Linked DNA regions of Homo sapiens: regions 1 and 2 are each linked to region 3. The links are contacts of gene promoters, found by promoter capture Hi-C in blood cells and fetal thymus (Javierre and others, 2016). All regions are on one chromosome and are shown on one strand. The core of a region is centred on a gene start or on the middle of the fragment in contact, and the rest is flanking DNA. Distances in the headings are between cores, read along the strand shown.

Region 1 (2,858 bases), core at 36-2,535, 530 kb before region 3:
GCATTGCTGTCTTTGCATTTGAAGAATCAGTCATTTCTTCCAGTCTTTATTGGCTATCTTTGGGAGAGAAAAACCTTTAACAGTCAGCCCAGCTAGGGATTCTGAGGCTCTCTTACACGTTTTCTATTCATGTGCCCACTCCACACTTCTGGTTCTCACTTGGTGGGGGGATCCTTAAAATTGCATGCACTTTCTCAATCCCACAAAGCCAGGCCAGCTGTCAAGAGGCTCTCATCTGTTTTCCCTAGGGTGGTGCCCTGAAATGCTCATTTTGTGTACCTTCTCCAAATCCTGAAGAGTCAAGCTATCTGTTTGTGTGAAATGCTTGCACTCAACATCTGAACAAATGTGGTTGGGGAGCCAGCCTGGTCAGGGGTGGTGGTGAGATACATGTAGCATTTGGGGTGCCTGTGAGTCAGTTGAGGTGCTCCATAGGCAAGGTATCCTAAGAAACCCACAGGAGGGCCTCTTGATGAAGCTCATAGAGCAGTCAGTAGGGTTTGCAGCCACTCTTTCCTGCCCCCAGACTCTCCTAACCTCCCAGCTGTGCTGATAATCTTGTTGTTCTGGTTGAGGCAAGAAAAAAGTGGGCATCCTAGGCAGTATCCTGAATGGGTGAGGGAGCTGGGTACTCACTCACTACACTCTAATTTTCACCCTGTAAGAGAAATCATGGGCTGATGTGATCTGTCATGGCACTGAGCTGTGCCCTCCGTAGGGGAGGAGCAATGCAGGTAAAGTGAATCTCTTTGTGTTACCCTCTTTAATGCATCCATTCTCTGATGTTTTACTCCAGTGATGTGCTGGAACGTCACCATTGGAGTTAGTCTCATCCATGGGTAATTGTCAAAATTGATGCTTCTGGAAGGGAAATGATGGTAGAAAGCTCCTATTCTTCCACCTTGCTAATATCACTCAGGACTTCTAGTTTGTTGGCAGCATTCCTAATTGTGTTCTGTTTTTTTTGTTTTGTTGTTGTTTTTTACAAAAAAACAAAATGTTTAGAGATGGGGTCTTGCTTTGTTGCCCAGGCTGGAGTGCAGTGGCTATTCACAGGCACAGTGATAGCACAATACAGCCTTGAACTCATGGGCTCAAGCAGTCCTCCTACCTCAGCCTCCCAAGTAGCTGTGACTATAGGCACGCGCCACCACATGTAGCTGTATTACTGTTGTTGCATATATTTAGAGAGGTATAATAATGCTGGAACATACCTAACACAAAGTCATGATCTTCATTTCCAAGTGCTTTAAGTTAATTAATGGTGGTAGTAAGAGAACTTGTTTCTGAAATCTACACAATAATGTTAAGATTTCTAATCCAAAAGGATCACCTATAGAAATGAAAGTTTATGCTTCAGAAATCTTTGAATATTTTGACAGTAGAAGCTCTATTGCTAAATTAGTACATTAATTTATAACAATAATAGTGGCCTCTATTACTCTTTACTATATGCAAAGTACTATGCTAAATATTTTACAAATATCATGTGATTTAATTTTTACCACAACCCTATGAGGTAGTAACTAATCTACTTACCTTGTAAATCTCCTTGGTACAGATGAGGAAACTGAGACTTAGGTTCACATAGCAAAGTTACACAGCTGGTGAGTATATTGACTAGGATTTGAAGCTCGATATGGCTGATGCCAACACTATGTTTAGCTTCTGTTCTCAATAAATTCTTTTTGGGTAAAGGGTCTCTTTGATATAATTGTGAACACATAACACATACAAAATTGCGAACATTGATTTTTACTCATAATCTCTGTTTCTTAATTTAATATTAATGAATATTTATGGTAGAAAAATTGAAGTTGAATTTTACTTTTATTTTTTTTTTTAACTTTAGGTGGTTTTCCCGCTGTATCCTTCAGAGAACAATGACTGATGTTGCAGATTGCTTGAAAGTTTTCATGACTGGTACTAAAAATATAGCAATGTGGGTGGGCTCCAAGGACTGTTCCTTCAGACCTCAAATCCACATGCTTATAGAAGACCACATAGGTCAGAGCAAACTCTCTACACCTGTCTTTGTCAACTGTCACCCAGTTGAAGATCTCTGAAGCTGCATGCCGATTTAGGCCAACAATCAGACTATGTAGCATTTACATTTACATTTGTCTGTGTGTGATAACATGAAGCCAGAAGGAAGGAAAATTTGTGGCTGCTGGTTTCCCTGACAAGCAGTTTGAAGGTCAAAAGAAACCAACCCTGGAGGAACTCGAGTTATGACAGAGCAATGTTAAGTGTAGACCTAGGAGGGAAGCCTATAGGGCTAGGATAGGGGTGCTAACAGATAAAGTGGCAAAGCAAGAGAAGAAGGGAAAGACAGCAGATGAGGAAAGGTGCCCTATCCATAGCAGGATGCAATGCAAAGACAAATCTAAGGTTTCTGTTTCTTCACCACTCCTGGCCTAGGTCTGGCTTTGCTATTTCCTAGCAGTGTGACTTGTACAAACCCTTCCCTCTCCTGATCTGCATTTTCCCATCTGTAAATTTGGGAGTATTGTAAATATTTTTTCTTAAAAAATGAATTTGCTTATACATGTTGGTAATGGACTTATATATATGATTACCTTCTATCAAACTAAAATGAATTTCCTAAACAATAAACTCTTAAAATAACTATGCAATATATACATGAAAATAATTATTGCATTCTATTATATTCCCCTCACATCGAAACCTGGTAAATTTTTTTAGCAGGTAATTTTTTTTTTAGCAGTTATTAAAGGTTTTCGTTGGGTAGCAGTTACTCTATGGTCCCTGTTCTTTAGGAAATTCATAGTTACAGTGAGTAGAAATGTTTTCAGAGTTCATTCCCTCAGTGAGAATTGGAATCAATTGGGTGAGTC
Region 2 (2,745 bases), core at 31-2,530, 530 kb after region 3:
GCTCAAGAAATTGAATATTTTCAACAAAGATGCCGAAAACACACCATAAGGAAAGGACAGTCTCTTCAATAAATGGTGCAGAGAAACGTGGATATCCACGTGCAGAAGAATAAAATTAGACTCTTAACTCACACTATCTACAAAAATCAACTGAAAATGAATGAAAGACTTAAATGTAAGACCTGAAGGTGTAAACTGCTAGAAGGCAACAGAGAAAAAGCTCCATGATCTTGGTCTGGGGGATGATTTTTTTGGATTTCACCCCAAAAGCCCAGGCAATAAAAGCAAAATTAGACAAAGGGGATTGCATCAAACTAAAAAGCTTCTGCTCAACACAGTGAAGATACAACCAACAAAATACAAAAGTATATTTGCAAATCATACATCTGATAAGGGGTTAATATTCACAATATATAAGAAATATATCTTACAACTCAATAGTAAAAAAAAACCCAATTAAAAATGGGCAAAGGACCTGAATAGACATTTCTCAAAAGAAGACATGCAAAGGGCCAACAAGTATGTGAAAATATGTTCAACATCACTAATCATCAGGGAAATGCAAATTAAAACCACAAAGGTATGTTATTTCACACCTGTTATAATGGCTGCTGTCAAAAAGACAAAAGATAACAAGTGTTGGTGATGATGTAGAGAAAAGGAACCTCTTGTACACTGTTGGTGAGAATGTAAATTAGTACAACTATTATGGAAAATGATATGGAGATTCCCCAAAAAATTAAGAATAGAACTACCATATGATCCAGCAATCTCACTTCTGGGTATATATTCAAAGGATATTAAATCAATGTCTTGAAGTACTATCAGCACTCCCGTGTTTATCACAGCACTATTCACAATAGCCAAGATATGGAATCAACCTAAGTGTCCATCAACAGATGAACGGATAAAGAAAATGTGGTATATGTACACAGTGGAATAATAGCCTTAAAAAACAAAGAAATTCTGTCATTTGTGACAACATGGATGAATCTGGTGGACATTAAAAAGTGAAATAAACCAGGCATAAAAAGACAAAAATACTGCATGATCTTACTTATATGTGGAATCTTAAAAAGTCACTCTCATGGAAACAGAGAGAAAATTGTGGTTATCAGAGGCCATAAGGTGGGGGACTGGGGAGATGCTGGTCAAAGAACACAAAATTTCAGTTAGGGGGAATAAGTTCAAGAGATATATTGTACATCATGATGACTGTAGTTAACAGCAATATGCAGTGTACTTGAAAATTGCTAGTACAGTAGAGTTTAAGTGCTCTCACCAAACAAAAAAGATAAGTATGTGAGGTATCATGCGTATGATAAATGGCTGATTTAATCTTTCCACAATGTGTGCATGGGTGTGTATATACATACATATAAATATACATATACACCCACACACACATATCACATTGTATGCCATAAAAATGTACAATTTTTACTTCTTAGTTTTTTTTAAGAAAAGCCATAAGTAAGAAAGTCACATGAAAGAAACATAAATGATCAATAAATATATAGGGAAAAAAAGACCAGTGTTGCTATGTGGCATGAAATAGAGTTGAATAACTCAGTAATCTTATATACAGACTCAAAAACACTTGTTTACAGTGGTTTCTAAATAATTTTCTCAGCCCTAAAAATTATATATAGGCTTTTATCACACTTTTCCTAATTTCTCAACTATTAACATCTTAGTTTAGCTAATATTTAGAAATTTTTAGATTGCCATGTGAACAGTGATTCTGGTAAAGAAAATAGTCATTTAGGGAAAACCTCATTTTAGTCTGTACACAAAATAAAGCTCAGCCAGACCCTTTTCCAACACCCCTTGTTTCTCATTAGTTTTCCAACTGAAGACATTGTTAATTCAAATAGTCAATTAGCCAGATCCTCTAATGACTCCCCTTCCATTAAGATCTGCCTGACTGCGTTATATCACCAGTGAATGGCCAGCCCCAGAATGTCACTGAAGAGTCCCATGGAATTCAGTATTTTAAAATCAGTGGCATTGGACAAGGACTCAGAGGACTTGACTTCCCTCAGTCTTTCTTTAAAGAAGGCCTTTGGCTTGGGCCTCAGTCCCTTCACTTCATCTTTCTGTAGAAGGGGCAGAGCTAGAAAACTATAGGGTCCACCCCAGCTCTGATAGTTTTTGAAGCTGGGTGGTAACCATCAACCTTACTAGACAATATCTGGTCTCCTTAAAATAAAATATCTCATTCTAGACCACTCTGACTCAAGCTTTTAGAATAAGCCTCTCTCTATCCTGTTCACTGTTGGCATTATTTCCTCACCATTCTTGGTTCTTTACTGGGAAACAGCAAAGAGGACTTTGGCCCTCAGGAGACACAACACTCACTCGGTCTAGTTTGAGGGAGTGTGTCACTCATGAACATCAGTTACTTGACGTGATGGTTAATTTTACGTGTCAACTTGCCTAGGCCATTGTACTCAGACATTTGGTCAAACACAAGTCTAAATGCTTTTCGTTAAGCTACTTTTAGATGAGATTTAAGTCAATTACACATTTAAATCAGTAAACTTTGAGTAAGGCCGATTACCTTCTATAACATGAATGGGCCTCATCTGATCAGTTGATGGCCTTAAGAATAAACAGACAGAGATCCCAAAGGAAGAGGGAATTCTGCCCCAACCACCCTCGGACTTGAGCTGCAACATCAGCTTTTCCCTCGGTCACCAGCTGGCTGGCCTACCCTGCAGATTTTGGATTTCCCAGCCTCCA
Region 3 (2,700 bases), core at 133-2,632:
GTCTCAGTCCACATTCCATGTGCTTTCCACTGAGCTCCATGTTACAGGTTGGGCTCCCCAGGAATCAGTCTCTGAGATGACAGTAGCATGCAGGAAGTTAGCAAAAAAGTGCTCAAGGGGAACACACGTGGGGAAGGGGAAAACTCAGGATTAGGCAAAGGAGAAGGTGGGCAGGTAGAACTAGAGCCAAGCAAATGCCAGCCAGCCTTTTTGGAGGGTTTGGGTGGATAACGGACAATGTCAAAAACAGCATTAATTTTCAATCCTGGGTGGTGGAAAGACTATATATATGTATGTATATATGTATGTATGTATGTATGTGTATGTGTGTATGTATGTGTGTATGTATGTGTGTGTATGTATGTATGTATGTATGTATATGTATGTGTGTATGTGTGTGTGTGTATGTATGTATGTATGTGTGTATGTATGTATGTGTAATTTCTCTATGTCAGACACTGCTGGGTTTGTGCTCCCCTCTATAATCTACTGATTGTGGGACTTCACACGAGGTACAAAACATAAGTGACCTAATAAGCCCTCTAGACAGGGCTTCAGGGAGGAGCCAAGGCTGGCACATAGTCAGAGGGCAGGAAAAGTTCCACTCCCTCCGTGTGATTAGGAGGGCTGCTTTGTTTTCTTCCCAGGCAGAGACCTCAAAGAAAAGTGTGACTTGTGGCAATCATTGGAATGCTCTAACGGGAGGGAGCCCTAAGCTAAGGGGAGGGGCTGTATCAGCCCCGGGAGGGCGAGGGACAAAGGGGCATTGTTTCCCTGGAGGGCAGGCTGGGGCAAGGCTGACTCCACTGCCGGCCTGGGCGTGGGCAGGTTTGCTCCCGGGAGGAGAAGGCCTCCATCCTGGCCCACAATAGCCAACCCAAAACAGTTCTGGCAAAATTAAAAGACGCAGGAAAATGCCAGCGACCGTTTATTTTCTCCTAGGGTAGATGGGGGAGAAAGCAGCTCCTTTTTCTGGGCTGAATGGAGTCTCAGGGAGGGGGCTAGGTGACAGCATCGCCCTTTCCTCTCCGGCTATTGCGCACCTTCTGGAGCCTCGCTCAGCCTGCTCCCTCCGGCGTAATACGCCAATGCTGCTACCCACAACGCACAGACCAGAAACCAGGATAGACAGAAGCCTAGAATGGCCTGGCATCGAGCAGGCCCAGCGCAAACGCAAGGTCTCTTCCTCTCCTTTCGGTGAACCCCACGCCCAGTCCCGAGAGAGAGAGCGGATGCTCATTTCCGAAAGCTGGCAATCCTGCAGTGGCCACTGGAAAAATACATATACGTGTGTGTGTGTGTGTGTGTGTGTGTGTGTGTGTGTGTGCGCGCGCGCGCACACAGTGCATATCGTGCCCATCTACAAGGAAACCTGGAGGCTCCACAAACAACTTTGAGTCCCGGGAGGGCGGAGGTGGAGAGAGATTCTCCGCTTGGATAAGGGCGGCTGGATAGCCGAGTACTCTCTTTTGGGGCTGTTGGCCGTCTCCGGAGTCTCGGGAGCGCCTTGATGTCCCTTCCCAGGGCTCGGGTTCCTTTGAGAGAATCAAGAGGAAGGTGTTTTTCACTAGGACTCGCGGTGGGCCCCACCTGCCTACCGTGGCCGGCCGGGAGCTATTACAGCAGGGTCTGCCCGTCCGACGACGGCGGCTCCAATCTGGGGTCCCGCCGGCGCCGACCCCTCAGCTCTCTCCCGATACCTGCTGGCCTCTCTCATCTTTGGTGGCACTCGCCGCCACGGGGACGGTGAGATCAAAGAGGTAGACCTAGGCCAGGAGGGACTGCCAGGGCTCCTTCCCGCGGGCCAGCCTCTCGTCCTTCCTCCCGGGACGGGGCTCTTTCCCTTTCTCCGGATGCGGGCCTTTGAGAGTCAGCGACGCCTTAGACTCCTCCCAGAAAAATGCACCCTCATCTACCCAATTCTGCCCTACCCTTTGGAGCTCCTGGACCCTCTAACCGCTCGGTGGGGTCAGAGCCCACCCCCGGAAGGGCCGCTGGTCGGGGACTGGTTCGCCCTCTCCTGGCCTCCTCGGACCAGTGCGCGGGGAGGATCCCGCTAACGCCGGGCGCCTGCAGACCTTGAGCGGCCTCGCCCTGGTGACCTCCCCGGGAAAGGCTGGGCGGTGCTTCCACAATGAGGGCCACCTGTTAATTTGCACGAGAAAGTGCTGCCGAGGGCCCACACGTGCGAATCCACCTGTGGAGTGCGTCCCCTCTCTGGGGCCAAGGCCTAGGGGAGGCCGAAGCGGAGAAGTTGCCTGAAGACTGGGAAGTAAGAGTAGGGGCGTCGGAGGAATCGAAGTTGCAGTGACATCAGGCTCGGACAGCCGGCGGACTCCTCGCAAGGTGATCGGATACTTCCGAGAGCCCCACAGTCCTCCTGGGCCTTTGCCCTCGCGTCTGGGATGCGCTCGGGCGCCCCCAGTCTGCGATGCGTTCGTACCTCCAGTAGGGTGACGTTTTCGCCGGGCCCCTCTGCGAACAGTCTCCGCCCTCCTCCACTGTGAGATATTTCACAGTTTCACCCGCAGAGGGCAACCTTATTCCAAGTTCCCGAGCGCCCTAGGCCTCTTTCTCCTCCCTGCCTAACTGGTGAGGTGGGACTTCAATGCCTTTTAGGTTTACAGTCTTTTCCTCCCCACGGCTTCTCTTTCCTCCCCGTCTCAGGCACTGGGCATTTCCAGTCGATCCAGCAGGTCT

Evidence for each region. Contacts are between HindIII fragments. The CHiCAGO score rates a contact against its expected background, and 5 or more counts as called.
Region 1: a fragment that was not itself captured here is called in contact with the fragment with the promoter of LNCRNA-IUR in region 3 in 1 of 17 cell types (fetal thymus); the score reaches 7.0 in fetal thymus.
Region 2: a contact is called between a fragment that was not itself captured here and the fragment with the promoter of LNCRNA-IUR in region 3, in 17 of 17 cell types (neutrophils, monocytes, naive CD4 T cells and 14 more). The highest score is 12.6, in neutrophils.

Annotation. Positions count from the first base shown.
Region 1 is chr11:94,614,641-94,617,498 of GRCh38, forward strand. It overlaps PIWIL4 (piwi like RNA-mediated gene silencing 4), which reads left to right. Exons shown (of 20, transcript NM_152431.3): 16 at 1,853-1,923. The region is part of intron 4 of PIWIL4-AS1 (PIWIL4 antisense RNA 1); the gene reads right to left. Among named protein-coding and RNA genes, the nearest start is that of LINC02700, 22 kb to the right of the region's middle. The HindIII fragment of the contact is 4,774 bases long and covers 1-2,858 here.
Region 2 is chr11:95,676,861-95,679,605 of GRCh38, forward strand. No RefSeq gene overlaps it. Among named protein-coding and RNA genes, the nearest start is that of FAM76B, 110 kb to the right of the region's middle. The HindIII fragment of the contact is 1,921 bases long and covers 321-2,241 here.
Region 3 is chr11:95,149,157-95,151,856 of GRCh38, forward strand. LNCRNA-IUR (lncRNA imatinib upregulated) reads left to right here and starts at 1,383. Exons shown (of 3, transcript NR_110303.1): 1 at 1,383-2,592. RefSeq lists enhancers at 1,169-1,710, 1,711-2,252, 1,853-1,982 and a silencer at 2,503-2,612. The HindIII fragment of the contact is 7,632 bases long and covers 1-2,700 here.